Linked DNA regions of Homo sapiens: all the other regions are linked to region 3. The links are contacts of gene promoters, found by promoter capture Hi-C in blood cells and fetal thymus (Javierre and others, 2016). All regions are on one chromosome and are shown on one strand. The core of a region is centred on a gene start or on the middle of the fragment in contact, and the rest is flanking DNA. Distances in the headings are between cores, read along the strand shown. Region 1 holds the start of LSM10 (LSM10, U7 small nuclear RNA associated). Region 2 overlaps OSCP1 (organic solute carrier partner 1). Region 3 holds the start of COL8A2 (collagen type VIII alpha 2 chain). Region 4 overlaps AGO4 (argonaute RISC component 4).

Region 1 (3,939 bases), core at 852-3,351, 270 kb before region 3:
GGCTGAGGCAGGAGAATTGCTTCAACCCGGGAGGCGGAGGTTGTAAGCCGAGATCAGGCCATTGCACTCCAGCCTGGGCAACAAGAGTGAAACTCCATCTCAAAAACAAAAAAAAATTTAGAGATGGGGTCTCACTATGTTGCCCAGGCTGGTCTCAAACTCCTGAGCTTAAACAGTCCTCTTGCCTTGGCCTCCCAAAGTGTTGGGATTACAGGTGTGAGCCACCACCCCCAGCCAAGAAGCCTAATTTACTGAGCTTCTTCTCTGTGCCAGATGCTTTCACACATTAATGAAGGTCACTTAAATCTTACAGTTCTCTGAGAAAGGCCTAATTTTTTGTTTTCATAACAAGCAAATTGAGGCTGAGGAAGAAAGTAATTTTTCCAAGGCTATACAGAGTGACTTTTAAAAAATGTAAATCAGGTGGGGCACAGTGGCGTGTGCCTGTAGTCCCAGCTATTCTTGAGGCTTGGGTAGGAGGATCACTTGAGCCCAGGTAGTTGAGGCTGCAGTGAGCTATGATCACACCACTGCACTCCAGCCTGGATGACAGGGTGAGAACCTGTCTCTACAAGTAAATCAAATCACTTCGCTCCCTTTCAATAGCCTGTCATAGCACTTCTAGTACTAGATGAGAAGACTGAGGCACAGAGAAGATACTAACTTGCCCAAAGTCACAATTAGCCAGGAGTAGATTTGAACCTAGGCACTGTATCCGGAGGCTGCACTCCTAACCATGAAATCTAAACTCCTTACCTTGGCTCACAAAGCCCTATATGCTCTGGTTCCTGCTTCCTCTCTGGCCTCTTGTTATACCACTCTCCCCAGCTTCCCTGGCCTTTCCTGTGTTCCTAAATTGTCAAGGTCATTTCCCCCAGGTTCTTTGCATGAACTGTGAAAAGAAAAAATTTAACTTTTAATTGGTGATTTGACTTTTTTTTGCCAAATTTGTTAAATCTGACTTTTATTTGCAACTCTAGAATCGGGCAACACTTCATTCTATAAAATGGAATGAGTGTTCAAATGAGCTGAGCAGAGGAGATTGGTTTTACAGCCAGAAAAGGGCTGAGGAAAGCAGAAACAGAAAACAAAAAGATTGGTTGTTTCAAAGTTACTTTCCTTGTAACTTTGAAGGCTAAAGCAGAGGGGACTTCCTTATCCTGCCAGCTAAAACAGGATGGTTTGGAGATCTAGCTATCTCTCACTCTTCTGATTTATCGGAATATCAGATAAACAACTTAGTTTCCACTTGGTGATGTAGAACTTTAGCATGAGTGACTCCATTTTGGTTCTGTTGGGCTTGGTGCAGGAGCCCTGTTCAAACCAATGGCCTCCAATTTTTTTTTTTTTTTGAGACGGAGTCTTGCTCTGTTGCCCAGGCTGGAATGAAGTGTTACTTTCTGAGCTCACTGCAGCCTCCACTTCCTGGATTCAAGCAATTCTCCTGCCTCAGCCTCCCAAGTAGGTGGGACCAGAGGTGTACGCCACCACGGTGGGCTAATTTTTTCTATTTTTTGTAGAGACAGGGTCTCCCCATTGTTGCCCAGACTGGTCTCGAACTCCTGGGCTCCAGTGATCCTTCCGCCTTGTCCTCCAAAGTGCTGGGATTACAGGTGTGGGCCTCTGCACCCGGCCCTGCCTCCTATAAATTTTACTTAACAAACTGTTCCCGCTAATTGCAATGCTCCTCCCATAGTTTTCACAAGCTTGGCTTCATGTCACTAATCTCAACTCAAATGTCACCTTCTCAGGGCACCCCTGACAATCCAATAAAAGACCACCTTGTCACCATCACATCACACCTTTAATCTTCTGAAGAAATTTTTCCCTATTTTTCTTCTTTGTTTTCTTAAGACTCTCTCCCCTGCAGCGCCATCAGCTCAGGGAGCCACTTGATCTTGGTCACTGCTCCATGCCGGAGCCTGGGAAGGAGCCTGGCCCAGGTCGCCGGTTCAATGAATGCGTGCGGAATGAATGAACGACTCTAGTGAAAGAGACTCCAATGACGCAGGCCGGGATTTGCGGAGCACGAGCCCCGCGCCGCGAAGCATTCTGGGGATTGTAGTTTCTCCGTGACGCGGTGACTTGCAGAGCACTGACGCACTCTGCGCCCGGAGGACAGAGCGGCCCGGTCGCCGGCATGGTTTCTCCGTCCTGCTGCAGCCGGCGGGAGGCAGCCAGTCCAGGCGCCCGCTAGCTTCGGCGGCGACCCAGACGGGGAAAGCGGAAGGAATGTCGCGTGGTGGGTCCGGGTCGGCGGTGCAGGGAGCCCCGGGGCGGAATGCGGGGGATGCCAGGACCTCCGGAAGGAGGTGCCGGAGCCCAGGAAGCGTTTTCTTCCCCATTTACCGAGTATAGCTCCTTTCCCCAGACCCGCTCCCGCTGCTCTGAGTAAGCGGTGCTCATCCCGTTTTACCGGTAGCTTAGCTAGCTTGGAGAAGCTAAGTGGTTTGCTAAGTGATCGCCCTCCTAGGAGGTGGCAAAGCCTGTTCTAGAACCCGGGCCTGACTCGAGGTCCGGTGACTGCTCTTTGCAGTCGCAGCAGCAGCCCCATACCTTTGCTTGATCGCAGATTCATCAGGCTGCAGCCGGGTGGCTGGTCGTTAGGCCATGCCCAGGGACCTAGCTCCCAGGCCCCCTCGTCACTGGCCTAGTCTGGCTTGCCACGCTCAGTGCCACAATGCACAGCCCTGGACGGGATGCTGAGTGAGGTCGTAAAGAGAGAGCGTTCCACCCCCTTTAACTCAGGTCTGAAAATAAGGGATAGGTAAGACATAGTGCACTAATACATTATCAGGGCATGTTGAAATCAAAGGAGAGTACCTTTAGTGGAGTGTGATTCTGGTAGCTTTGTTTCTCCTGTAGTTTAATAAATGTGGAAACAGGTTCAGAGACATTAACTTTTCTAGGTTTTCATAATTAGGGGTGGAGTGGGGATTCCAACCTAGGTTTCTCTACCTTCAAAACCTATGTACCTTATATAATACCGGTTGGGGGTTTTTTTCCCCAATTCATTATCCAGATTTATTTTCTTTTTTTTTTTCTGAGAGTCTCGCTGTGTCACCCAGGCTGGTGTGCAGTGGCACAATCTTGGCTCACTGTAACCTCTGCCTCCTGGGTTCAAGCGATTCTCCTGCTTCAGCCTCCCAAGTAGCTGAGATTACAGGTGCGCCCATGCCCAGGTAATTTTTGTATTTTTGGTAGATACTGGGTTTCACCATGTTGGCCAGGCGGGTCTTGAACTCCTGACCTCAGGTGATCCACTCGCCTTGGCCTCCCAAAATCCTGGGATTACAGGCGTGAGCCCTTGCACCCGGCCTCATTACCTTAATTTCTACTTACATAACAGCTGCATGGTGTAGACCAATAGTTCCCAGAGTGTGGGCCCCTGACCAGCAGCATCAGCATCACCTGGGAACATGTTCAAAATGACTTTATCTCTGGGCCTCACCTCAGACCTGAGTCAAACTGGGAGTGGGGCCCAGCAAGCTGAGTTAACAAGCCCCTCAGATGATTCTGATACACACTAATGTTTGAGAACTACTGGTGTCAACCAATGATTCTCAAACCTTAACGTGTATCTAATTCACGTAGGGGGTCATGTTAAAATGCAGTCTGTTTCCAGCCAGCGTGGAAGATGGCAGTGAGCCACTCAGTGAAGGAGTGGATTTTATCTCAGAACAGGCTTGGGGAGAGACCTGAGATTGCGCATTTCTAACCAGTACCCCTCAGCACTTTGGAGTTATCTGGGGAGCTTTCTTTTTTTTTTTTTTTTTTTTTTTTTTGAGATGGAGTCACTCTGCTGCCCAGGCTGGAGTGCAGTGGCACTCCACTTGCAGCTCACTGCAAGCTCTGTCTCCCAGGTTCACGCCATTCTCCTGCCTCAGCCCCCCGAGTAGCTGGGACTACAGGCGCCCGCCACCACGCCTGGCTAATTTT
Region 2 (4,030 bases), core at 1,497-3,996, 320 kb before region 3:
TGGTGCTGCTTTCCCAATATTTTCTTTTCAAAAGCCCATGACTCTTGATGGGGGAAGATGGTGAATTTTCCCAGAGGAGTGTGATCTTGCAATGGAAACCCTTTGCAGCCGGTTAGGACATGGCACTGGCCATGCTTTCAGACTGCTCTCTTGGGAGCTTTTGGTATTATGTATTGAAGCCATGTGTATACTTTGATTATAACTTCAGAAATCACCCCTAATACCACAATCTAGTGGCAAATGTTTCCAAAAGAAACTATTAATTACAAAATGGTTTTGGGGTTTTTGTTTGTTTGTTTTTGTTTTTTGAGATGGAGTGTTGCTCTGTCGCCCAGTGGCGTAGTCTCCACTCACTGCAACCTTCACCTCCTGGGTTCAAGCAATCCTCCTGCTTCAGCCTCCCAAGTAGCTGAGACTATAGGTGTGCACCACCACACCCAGCTAATTTTTGTATTTTTTGTAGAGATGAGGTTTCACCATGTTGGCCAGGCTGGTCTCGAACTCCTGACCTCAGGTGATCCGCCCATCTTGGCCTCCCAAAGTTCTGGGATTACAGGCATGAGCCACTGTGCCTCGCCAAAATGTTTTTGAAATACAGATGTGTATAGAACTTTTTTATCTAGGGGTGGTTCTTCTAGATTGAAATCTCCATCAAAAATTAAGGAAAGGAAAAAAGTCATCTTCCATCCTTTATGGGTGGTGTCTAATGTCCCTCAGTAGAGGAAACAGAACTCAAAGGGAAGCCAGCTAAGTATTTGATGTGTGTTATGCTTTATCCCCACAATAGGCCTGTAAGATAGGTGCTATTATGATCCCTATTTTACGAAGGAAACTGAGGTTAAACAAGTTGCTTGAAGTTTATATAGCCAGTAAGTAGAGCCAGGTTTCAACCCATAGAGTCTTGATTCTCACCGATTTCTCTAGCCAACTGCATTTTTCCTTATTTGGTCTCCTCTTGGGATCTCCCCAGCTGCCTTTGTCCTCAGAAGCTTTCTTCATAGTGGTCCCATCATTATTCGCTTCTTTTTACATGGAAATCATGCATCTATATATATAAAAAGTAAAACAGAAACAAATGCTGACATTTTCCTTTTAATTCACATTTCAAGTTTTCTAATTTGAGCAGTTCCATCTGTCCTCTAGAAAGGGAAATCTTACATTAATAAAAAAAAAAGAAAAGAAAAGAAAACTCAGATTGTATACAAAGAAACTCTTTTCTCTGCCTGTTCTTGGAATTATTCTTCCTCATGGAGGCTAGCGTCTTTAAAAGCCTACTACTGAATGATATGTATTCTTGTAGCATTAGAGAGCGGGGCTTCTTGGGCCTTTCAAGATGAACCACAGGATAGCTAATCCTCCTCAGTTTACTCTCTTCTTAGGCCAGTCTCTGTAAGACATAGCCTTTCTTGAGCTTTTTTGAAATATGTTGTTTATCCATCATCCTTTTAAAGGTTTCAAATAGAAGGCAGTGTGCTCACATTAGACATTAAATGCCAACGTGAAAAGTAAAGTTTCATAGATAAGATCATTGGAATTGGTATGTTTAAAGCCTCCTTGAAAATAATGTTCTTGCTTCATGAACTGGTGTTTTCTTTTTGTATGCTTCATGTAGATGAATGGACAGAGGTGGACAGAAAACGAGGTATGCTATCTCCGGGCTGCATGTGTTCAGTGTGCATCCACAGGTTCACTCAGGCCTTTATCAGCAGGGCTTAAAATGGGACCGCTTGAAACATTTCAAAGTCAAAGTAAGAAAATAGGCATGAGTTTGTCTTTAGCTGAGATATTGGTTATACATTTGAATCTTTTACTTAAGAGGAAGAAATACAGCATGTTAAGATGAAAACTAAGCAAACTCTGACCAAAAAGCCACACTGTACTTGAGGGATATGTCTCCTTTTCTCAGTTCCAAGCTTTGCTGGGACAGCTGGGGCAATAGCCATACTTTGGGGTATGTCATCCTATTTGGTAGTCCTTAAAACAACTTTGTTTTGTCATGTAACCAAAGAATTGTGCTTCAACATGAGTGACCCTCCCTGAGCCATTCTCCTAAGCTCACAGAGCAACCGAGAAAAATTGAAGCATGTAACTGCATGGCTGCCAGGACTGTGGGCAGAAGGCATGACATCATGCATGCAGTGTGGCCTCATCATGCAAAAGCTTCAGTTTCCCCTTACCTACTGCAAGCAGGAAACCTGAAAAAGTTGTCGACTCCTCAGAATAAAGCCTTAGACTTTCTCAGCCTTTAAATAAATCTCAGATACCTTCTGTCATTTGACATTTGGGTGTGGTGTGTGCCTATCATCAGCCATCCTCCTCAATATTTTAAATGCTCTCACCACACCAAGTATGCTGGGAAGACAACCTGTATAATATTTAAGAGGCCAGGTGCAGTGGCTCACACCTGTAATCCCAGCACTTTGGGAATCTGAGGCAGGAGGATCACTTGAGGTCAGGAGTTCGAGGCCAGCCTGGCCAACATGGTGAAACCCTGTCTCTACTAAAAATACAAAAATTACCTGGGCATGGTGGTGGGCACTTATAATCCCAGCTACTTGGGAGACTGAGGCAGGAGAATCACTTGAACCTGGGAGGCAGAGGTTGCAGTGAGCCGAGATCTTGCCACTGCACTCCAGCCTGGGCGACAGAGCGAGACTCCACTTCAAAAATAATAATAATAATAATAATATTTAAAAGCACAGGCATTAAATCAAACAGACCTAATTCTAATTTCAGCTCCATCACCAGCTGTGTGACCTTGGACTTTAAACTCTCTGATTCAGTTTTCCTCCTTAATAGAATGAGGATAATATAAAACGATAAGTGGTCTGGCAGGAAAAAAAAATGAGGATAATAATTCAGAGTTGTCTTGGAGTTTAAATGAGATAATGCATATAAAGTTCTAAGCCCAGTGCCTGGGACATAGAAAGGATTGAAACATGGTAACTATTCAGGAGGGTTTCCTAGCCTCTCTCTAAATTCTTGGCTCCAAATTTCATATTCCCATAAACAAGTCAATTTAGAGCAGAGGTAATTGGTAAAAACTTGATTGCTTTCATCAAGATAATTATTTCATCAGACCAGTCTCGAAAAAAAGCCCAATTGAAGTACTTGGTACACTTTATTACATTTCACAACCATCGTTTGACACTTCTTGAGCAATTTTTGACCCGTCCCTCCCTTGATGCATAGCAGAATTTCAGGTATGAAGTGTGGATTTTGAGAGCTTTTCATATACATAATTGAATCATTGAAATTTATTTTAACATAAATGTTCAAAAATAATGAACAGAAACTGGCTTCATAATCTGAACCCAGGACTAGAAGCTTGCTATGTTGAGAACCCAATTACCAACTTTCTGAGGCTCCTGTGAAAAATCCCTTCCCTCCCCTGCCTTAGCCTCCTTTTTTTTTTTTTTGAGACGGAGTTTCGCTCTTGTTGCCCAGGCTGGAGTGCAATGGAGCGATCCCAGCTCACTACAACCTCCGCTCCCAGGTTCAAGCAATTCTCCTGCCTCAGCCTCCTGAGTAGCTGAGATTACAGGCATGAGCCACCACGCCTGGCTAATTTTGTATTTTTAGTAGAGATGGGGTTTCTCCATGTTGGTCAGGCTGGTCTTGAACTCCCGACCTCAGGTGATCCACCCACCTCGGCCTCCCAAACTGCTGGGATTACAGGCGTGAGCCACTGCGCCCGGCCCCCCTTAGCCTCTTCCTATTGAAATCCGGCTCCTAGTATATTCCGGCCTCGTGAAAAGTATGCAGAACTCATTTGCATGCCAAAAACCAACACTTAGACTAATGGGCGGGTCTGATTAAAACTATTTCTTCAGGGATGTTAGGATGAAGGGAAAAAAATAAAAAACAAATTACTTTTTTTTTTTTTTTTTTTTTTGAGCTGGAGTCTCGCTCTGTTACCCAGGCTGGAGTTCAGTGGCGCGATCTCGGTTCACCGCAAGCTCCGCCTCCCGGGTTCACGCCATTCTCCTGCCTCAGCCTCCCGGTAGCTGGGACTGCAGGCGCCCGCCAT
Region 3 (3,513 bases), core at 620-3,119:
ACACACACCCACACCCACAAACACAGAGCCACACACACACTCCCATCCCCACACACAGCCACACACACACCCATACCCACAAACACACAGCGGCACCCACACACCCACACACACAGACACCCATACCCCCAAACACAGCCCCCCACACACACTCCCACTCACACCCCCCCACACAGCCACACACACAAAGCTACAATACACCCACACAGCCACACACACCCACACAAAGCCACATAGCCACATCCACACACCCAAATGCAGCCACACCCCCCACACCCCCCCACGCACATACCTCCCCACACGCACACAAATACACACCCCCACCCCTCCACACACCTACACACATGCTGACCCCCCACCCATGCGCGCACACACACACTTGCACACCCAAGCACACATACCTCCACATATGCCCACACCCACCTACACGCATGCACACACACACCCAGGCACGCACACACACACACATGCACACACACACACACACACCCACCTACACGTACACACACAGGCACGCGCACACACACATGCACGCACACACACGCCCACACCCACCTACATGCACACACAGACACCCACACTCACCTACATGCACACACGCACACAGACACACACACACACACACCCCAAAATCCTTTCCTGACCTCATCTCCCCTTCCCTCTGCACTTGCTGCCTCCTCCTTTCTCCCCTGCTGCCTGGCTACTGCCCCTACCCCCACCCCAACCTCCAACCCTTAATTGCTGTCCCTAAGAATGTCCTTCTGTGACAGCCCATCCCGTGGGCCTCCCTGGCCTTCTAGAAGCACTCTGCCTTTGCCTTCTGGGACACTGCTCTCCCGGTCCCTGCCATCTTCTCAGTCTCCTTTGCCGACCCCTCTCCCTGGGCAGCCCCGTGAATGCTGATGAGTGTCCTGCCCGCGCCCTGCCCGCCTCCCTGGGCCCGCTCCTTATTCTATGGCATCAGTCGCCATCTGCAAACCGTGGATTCCTCCTCGCTATCCCAGAACTCTCACCTCCCTTCCGGATCCATGGAAGTCCCACAGGCTCATCCAATTCATTACATCCGTCCTCCTTCTTCTCCTAGACCCTGCCGCCCCCAGGCCTAGCCCAAAGCCTGCGCACTGTCCTTGACACTGCTTCTTCCTAGGCCCCTCGCCCAAACTCTGCCTAGTTCGCCTCCTCACTCCCCTCACACTGGGCCCTCCCTTTCCTTCCCCCTCACTGTGCACCTCATGGGACCATGCCAGGGTATTCCCGCAGCCTCCTCGGTGGCCTGCCTCTATCTTCCTCCACACAGCTTCGGGAGGCTCTTTCCAAAGCACACATCTGACCACGTGACTGCCCTGCTCCAGAGCCTTCCGTGACTCCCCATTTCCGAGGGACGAGGTCTGGCCTGCTCCCGCCTGCCTCTGTGACCCCGGCTCAATGCCCTAAAGCCTGAATGTGCGGGTCACGACTGGCCCCTGTGAGTCCTCCGGGCTCAGCCTACCGAGGTCACGTCTGCAGGCAGCCTTCTGGGGACTCCTCACTGGGGGCCACCAGCCCGAGCTGCCCCTTCCCTGCAGGACCACGCCTGGCCGTCCTTCTCAGCAGCCGCGTCCGTCCCCACAGGCAGGTGGCCCCTCGAGGGCAGGGGCTGCGCGGACTCCCCGGCGGCCGAGCCGCGGGTCAGGTGGACGGGGAGGGATGGGGGCGGGCCGCCCGGGAGCGCGTGTGTGGAGGGGGCTCGGCGTGGGTGTCGGGGAGGGAGGCAGCCGTCCGAGTCCGCGCTGGGCGCGCTGGGCCGGGCGGGGCGCGGGCCTTGGCCGTGGCTGTGGAAAGAGGAGGGCGGAGGCCCCGCCCCGACGCGCCCCTCCTGCCGCCCGCCCACTCCGGCAGCCGCGAGGGGCGGCCGGCAGAGCGACGCGGAACCCCGCCGGCGCGGACCCCGGACCCCAACGCCGCCCGCCCAGCCGCGGACGCCCCTGCCCGGAGCCCTCGCCGCCCGGGCCGCCCTCGAGGGCCGGGAGCGGCGCCCGGCGGCCGCGCCCGCAGGTAAAGGCCAGGAGGCGGGCACCGGGGCTCGGGCTGGGGGGCTCCGAGGGCAAGACCTGGGCTGGGCTTCCCCCAACACCATGCGGGATAGCAGGGCCGGCGCCTCGGACTCCGGGGTGGGGACGCGGTGGGGGACTCGGGCCAGGGGGTCGCCTTAGAATGGGGGAGCCCATCCCGTTCCCTGTGCCCCGTTCCCTCCCCGGCAGGATCCCAGTAAAGCCCCCTCCTCCCTTCCTCTCCCAGAAGCGAGGGCTCCAGCATAAGACAGTGCCGGGTGCAACCCCCGACGATGTGGCTCTGGGCGCGTCACCACCTCCCGATCTCCCGTCCCACCTGTAAAGTGGGGATAAAAAAGCCGCCTTCACAGGGTAGTGGAGGAGAGAGGAGGGAGTGAGGGGCCTTAGCATCCCCCCGCTCTCACTCCTGCCCCCATCTCTCTGCCATTGCTGATTTGCTGGAGACCTTCCAGTTATAAGGTTTTTCTGCCTTAGCCCCCAGGTTCCTCCTATTCTAGGTGCCCTGTCAGTCCCCTCGCCCCAAACTGAAGACAAGTTCCCAGGAATGTTCCTGTCAGGGGCTCAGCATCCCCCCAGCTCCAGACTGAGACTTGCAGGGGGTGAGGGGCCGCTGCCTGGCCAAGAGGGACTGGGGTCCCAGGGCCCCAGAACAACCTCCCAGTGTCTCTGCCCTGGGTCTGGAGCCACCCTAGCCCCGGAAATCCTCCAGGTAGAGAAATGCTATTCAGCCAGAGGGCCCAGGAACGCTATTGCCACGGGGAAAACTTTGCTGGTTGTATGTGTGCACGCACGTGTGTGTGCCTGTGTGAGACCATGCTGGGTTCCTGACACAGACGTGCGGCTGACCTCCTTAGGGGTGCCGGAGCAACCAGAAATCATCCCTCCTGTCTGCTATCAGTACCTCTTGCTCAGGCTGGCAGCAGGGGCTCATCCACTCCTCTTAGCAGAGTCCCCTTGGCAAGGACAGCCTCCCAGCAGCTGTACTGGGCATTTGAAAAATCTGGGGGCCGTGGAGCTGGATGGCTGGAGGGTCAGGCAGCCTGGGGTTCCTCTCTGGGGACTGAGCTAAGATCGACTGATCCTTACTGCCCCAAGCAGAGGGGGCCGCAGGGCAGGAGTTGGTGATCTCTGGAGAGACACCATGGTTGGTGGTCTCCATCAGGGCACAGGTGCTGTCACTGGCTTCCCAGTGGACTGGTGAACACCTACAAACCCTTGGACACACAATGACCCTAGATGATAATGAGGAGAAACCACAGACATGCTCACCCAGCCACACACAGCCTTGCACCCTTCTGAGAGCCATGCACAGTCACACACCGACCCAAACATTCATTAGATTCATGCGGACACCCTCCTCTAATGAAACATACACCACCACAAGACACAGGCGGACACATGCACACACACCCAAACTCCTACAGACACATGGCAGGCCCCACGTGGCCCAGCCAGACATACT
Region 4 (3,481 bases), core at 788-3,287, 280 kb after region 3:
GAGAAAATAATTGAAACCTACTCCTTAAACTCAGAAATACTTCTGCCTAGCACACCTACAAGCAGATACCTAGACCAAAAGATAATTCTAGGATACAAGCATTAACAAAGTTAGGCACGGTGTTAAATAACAAGTCGACTCAAGCTAGTTGCTGAATTTGCAAACATCTCCCTATCAAGTCAAAGATCTGAACCAGCTTCCAAATTACCTGAATTCCTGCATGACTACAGAGGTAAAAGTCAAACTCAGATGGATGTGTGATGGTACTATCCACTGTAGTGCCTGCTGGTACATTGCCACTTTTCCCTACCTACAAAAAACAAAAAAAAGTAATTAGTCATCAAAGTGCCAAACTGTGGTCAGGCCATTTTTTTCTTTTGTGTGTTAATTGGGAGCAAGTTGGTAAATGTCTCTTAAGTCTTGAAAATCACTTTCATTCAAGATGTTGAATCCTCTGTAACTTTCCCTTAGCCCAACCATTTTAACCTATAGTATTTTCACAAACAAATATGTTCCAGGATCTCTTCAGGAGGATACGGACAAAAATATTTTACCCGTGGCTTTGGGCTACAACATTATTATGTATTTACAGATGACACAGTGGTATGTTCACAAAGGGAAAAAACATTTAACATTTAAGATAGATAAACTTTCTGAGAAAAAAAGTTTTATTCCTTACTTGGAGTAAAAAAAATTCACAATTTTCAGTAAAAGATTAAGGAATCTTTAAACTGGTTTACCAGGTTCAACATAACTAGTACTTTTTTTTTTTTTTTTTTTGAGACAGCGTCTCACTCTGTCACCCAGGCTGGAGTGCACTGGGAGGATCACAGCTCACTGCAACCTTGGACTCCTGGACTCAAGGAATCCTTTCACCTCAGCCTCCTGAGTAGCGGGGGCTATAGGCACACATGCCATCATGTCTGGCTTTTTTTTTTTTTTTTTTTTGAGACACGGGGTCTAATTTTGTTGCCCAGGCTGGACTCAAACTCCTGGGCTCAAGCAATTCTCCCACCTTGGCCTCCCAAAGTGCTAGGACTACAGGTGCGAGCTACCACATCTGGCAATAACAAATACTTTATTAATAATAAAAAAAAAGTCACTGGCAAATGGTTATCAGGAAGAAAGCACTGAAATGGGAACTAAAAAATCAGTTTCAGATCTAGGCCTAGCCTTGCAACTATATACCTTGAACAAAGCTTATTATCTTTATACCTCAATCTAATCATCTATAAAATTAGGTGATGTTCTCTTACCCTTTTAAAATTCCAAGCAAAAACTCTACAGACAAAATTTGAAAATCAAATTTCTAGGAAGGCAAGAGGGGAACTTCAGAAATGGATTACAAGGGAAGGAATTACATCTTGCTATTTGGTCACCCTCTTCTGCTGTACAGCAGAGTTCAGTATGAACACATTTCTTTAGCATACAGGCACAAATTTGATGGGAGTTTATTTGGCTCCATTTTAACTATTGTTACCTTAAGCTGAAGATCATACACCTATGCATACATAACTCTATGAGTATAGAAAAATCTCCTTCCATCAAATGCATATGTGATCTTGGGTTCCTAGCTGGATCAGAAGAAATCTAGTTGGTTCTAGCATTTTTTTTTCCCCAAAGTGTGTTCTTTAGGAATATTAGCTTTGCAGGATGTGTTTAGGTATTTTATGGTGAAACAAACCTGAGAAATATGGGATCAAATTAAAGTTAAAAGTATTTTTCTACTGTATGACTCAAAACCTTTATTTAGTCATGTATAATCTTTAAAAGGGATATAAAGTATATAGCATTTTCTAAATTTATTTTACCCTTAAAAAAAAAAAAAACTCTCTGGTTCTACATATGACAGCCTGAAGAGGTGATGCCTTGGAGAAAAGGGAATCCAGGCCTTTTCAATTCACCAGTTATTGCTTGAGCACCCATATGACTGCTAGGCTCCGCAGCAGATGTTGGGGATGACAGCCAGGGGCATCAAGAGAACTAATAAACTTGCCTTCCTGACTTCATGAAAAGTGTATACAATAAACTGTAACACAATGTCATAAGGGCATATGGGAAGCATTGGGAAAAGCTGATGAGGAGGAAATAGGTGAGCCATGCCTTATAAGTAGGAGCTGAAAAGGGAAGTTGGGTAAAAAACAGGAAACACTCCAAATACCCCTAAACTCAGAAATGGATAAGCAAACTGTGGCTCATCCACATTATGAAATACCACTCACAATAAAAAGGGGCAAATTACTGATATATACACAACTTGGATGAATCTCAAATGCCAGACTCAAGGGCTATGATTCTATTTATATGATGTGCTGGAAAAAGCAAAACTGTAGGAACAGAATACATATCAGTGGTTGCCAAGGGCTGGGAGTGAAGGAGAAAGGTTAACTACAAAAGGACACCTGAAGATTTTTTGGTATGACAGAATTATTATACAGTCAGCCCTTGGTATCCACAGGTTCTGCATTCAGGAATTCAACCAACTGTGGATATTCTTTAAAAAGGTTTGGATATTCTAATTATACCCTGATTTGATCACTGCACATTATTTGTATAAGAATTCCTATGTAACCCATAAATGTGTATAATTATTATGTCAATTAAAAATAAATAAAAATATAAATTTTAAAGACCTGACACAAATACAGAAAATTGTTAACATGTTTAAAAATTTAATTTTAATATGAAAAAAATTAAAAACAATAAAACATAGCATTTACACTGTATTCGGTACTAAAGCAACCTAGAAAAATATTTAAAATAATTCAACAGTAAAAACTTATACACATTTTAAAATATAGTATAACAACTATTTAAGCCTTTACATTGTATTAGGTATTATAAGTAATCTAGAGATCTTTTAAAGCAAGCTTGTCCAACATGCAGCCCAGGATGGCTTTGAATGTGGCCCAGTACACATTTGTAAACTTGGGCCGGGAGCAGTGGCTTTCATGCCTGTAATCCCAGCACTTTGGGAGGCCAAGGCAGGCAGATTACTTGAGCTCAGGAGTTCAAGACCAGCCTGGCCAACATGGTGAAACTCCATCTCTACTAAAAATCCAAAAATTAGCTGGGCATGGTGGCATGTGCCTGTAATCCCAGCTACTCGGGAGGCTGAGGCAGGAGAATCACTTGAACCCAGGAGGCAGAGGTTGCAGTGAGCCGAGACTGAGCCATTGCACTCCAGCCTGGGTAACAGAGCGAGACTCAGTCTCAAAAAAAAAAAAAAGACCAAAAACAAATTTGTAGACTTTCTTAAAACATTATGAGATTTGTTTGTGATTTTTTTTTTTAGCCCATCAGCTATGGTTAGTGTATTTTATGTGTGGCCCAAGAAAATTCTTCTTCCAATGTGGTCCAAGGAAGCCAAAAGATTGGACACCCCTGTTTTAAAACATATGGGAGGATGTGCATAGGTTATATACAATTACTATACCATTTTTGTTTTTTGAGATGGAGTCTTGCTATGTTGCCCAGGCTT

Evidence for each region. Contacts are between HindIII fragments. The CHiCAGO score rates a contact against its expected background, and 5 or more counts as called.
Region 1: a contact is called between the fragment with the promoter of LSM10 here and the fragment with the promoter of COL8A2 in region 3, in 1 of 17 cell types (endothelial precursors). The highest score is 5.0, in endothelial precursors.
Region 2: a fragment that was not itself captured here is called in contact with the fragment with the promoter of COL8A2 in region 3 in 2 of 17 cell types (naive B cells and total B cells); the score reaches 6.0 in naive B cells.
Region 4: a contact is called between a fragment that was not itself captured here and the fragment with the promoter of COL8A2 in region 3, in 1 of 17 cell types (megakaryocytes). The highest score is 5.4, in megakaryocytes.

Annotation. Positions count from the first base shown.
Region 1 is chr1:36,396,070-36,400,008 of GRCh38, reverse strand. LSM10 (LSM10, U7 small nuclear RNA associated) reads left to right here and starts at 2,101. Exons shown (of 2, transcript NM_032881.3): 1 at 2,101-2,242. RefSeq lists enhancers at 1,532-2,243, 2,244-2,956. The HindIII fragment of the contact is 5,014 bases long and covers 1,709-3,939 here.
Region 2 is chr1:36,441,616-36,445,645 of GRCh38, reverse strand. All of the region lies in intron 1 of OSCP1 (organic solute carrier partner 1), which reads left to right. LOC107984940 (a long non-coding RNA gene) reads right to left here. Exons shown (of 3, transcript XR_001737976.2): 2 at 913-1,045. Among named protein-coding and RNA genes, the nearest start is that of OSCP1, 6.8 kb to the left of the region's middle. The HindIII fragment of the contact is 1,167 bases long and covers 2,163-3,329 here.
Region 3 is chr1:36,123,578-36,127,090 of GRCh38, reverse strand. COL8A2 (collagen type VIII alpha 2 chain) reads left to right here and starts at 1,869. Exons shown (of 4, transcript NM_005202.4): 1 at 1,869-2,034. The HindIII fragment of the contact is 11,810 bases long and covers 1-3,513 here.
Region 4 is chr1:35,846,986-35,850,466 of GRCh38, reverse strand. AGO4 (argonaute RISC component 4) reads right to left here. Exons shown (of 18, transcript NM_017629.4): 16 at 209-310. Among named protein-coding and RNA genes, the nearest start is that of AGO1, 34 kb to the left of the region's middle. RefSeq lists a silencer at 898-1,050. The HindIII fragment of the contact is 1,671 bases long and covers 1,202-2,872 here.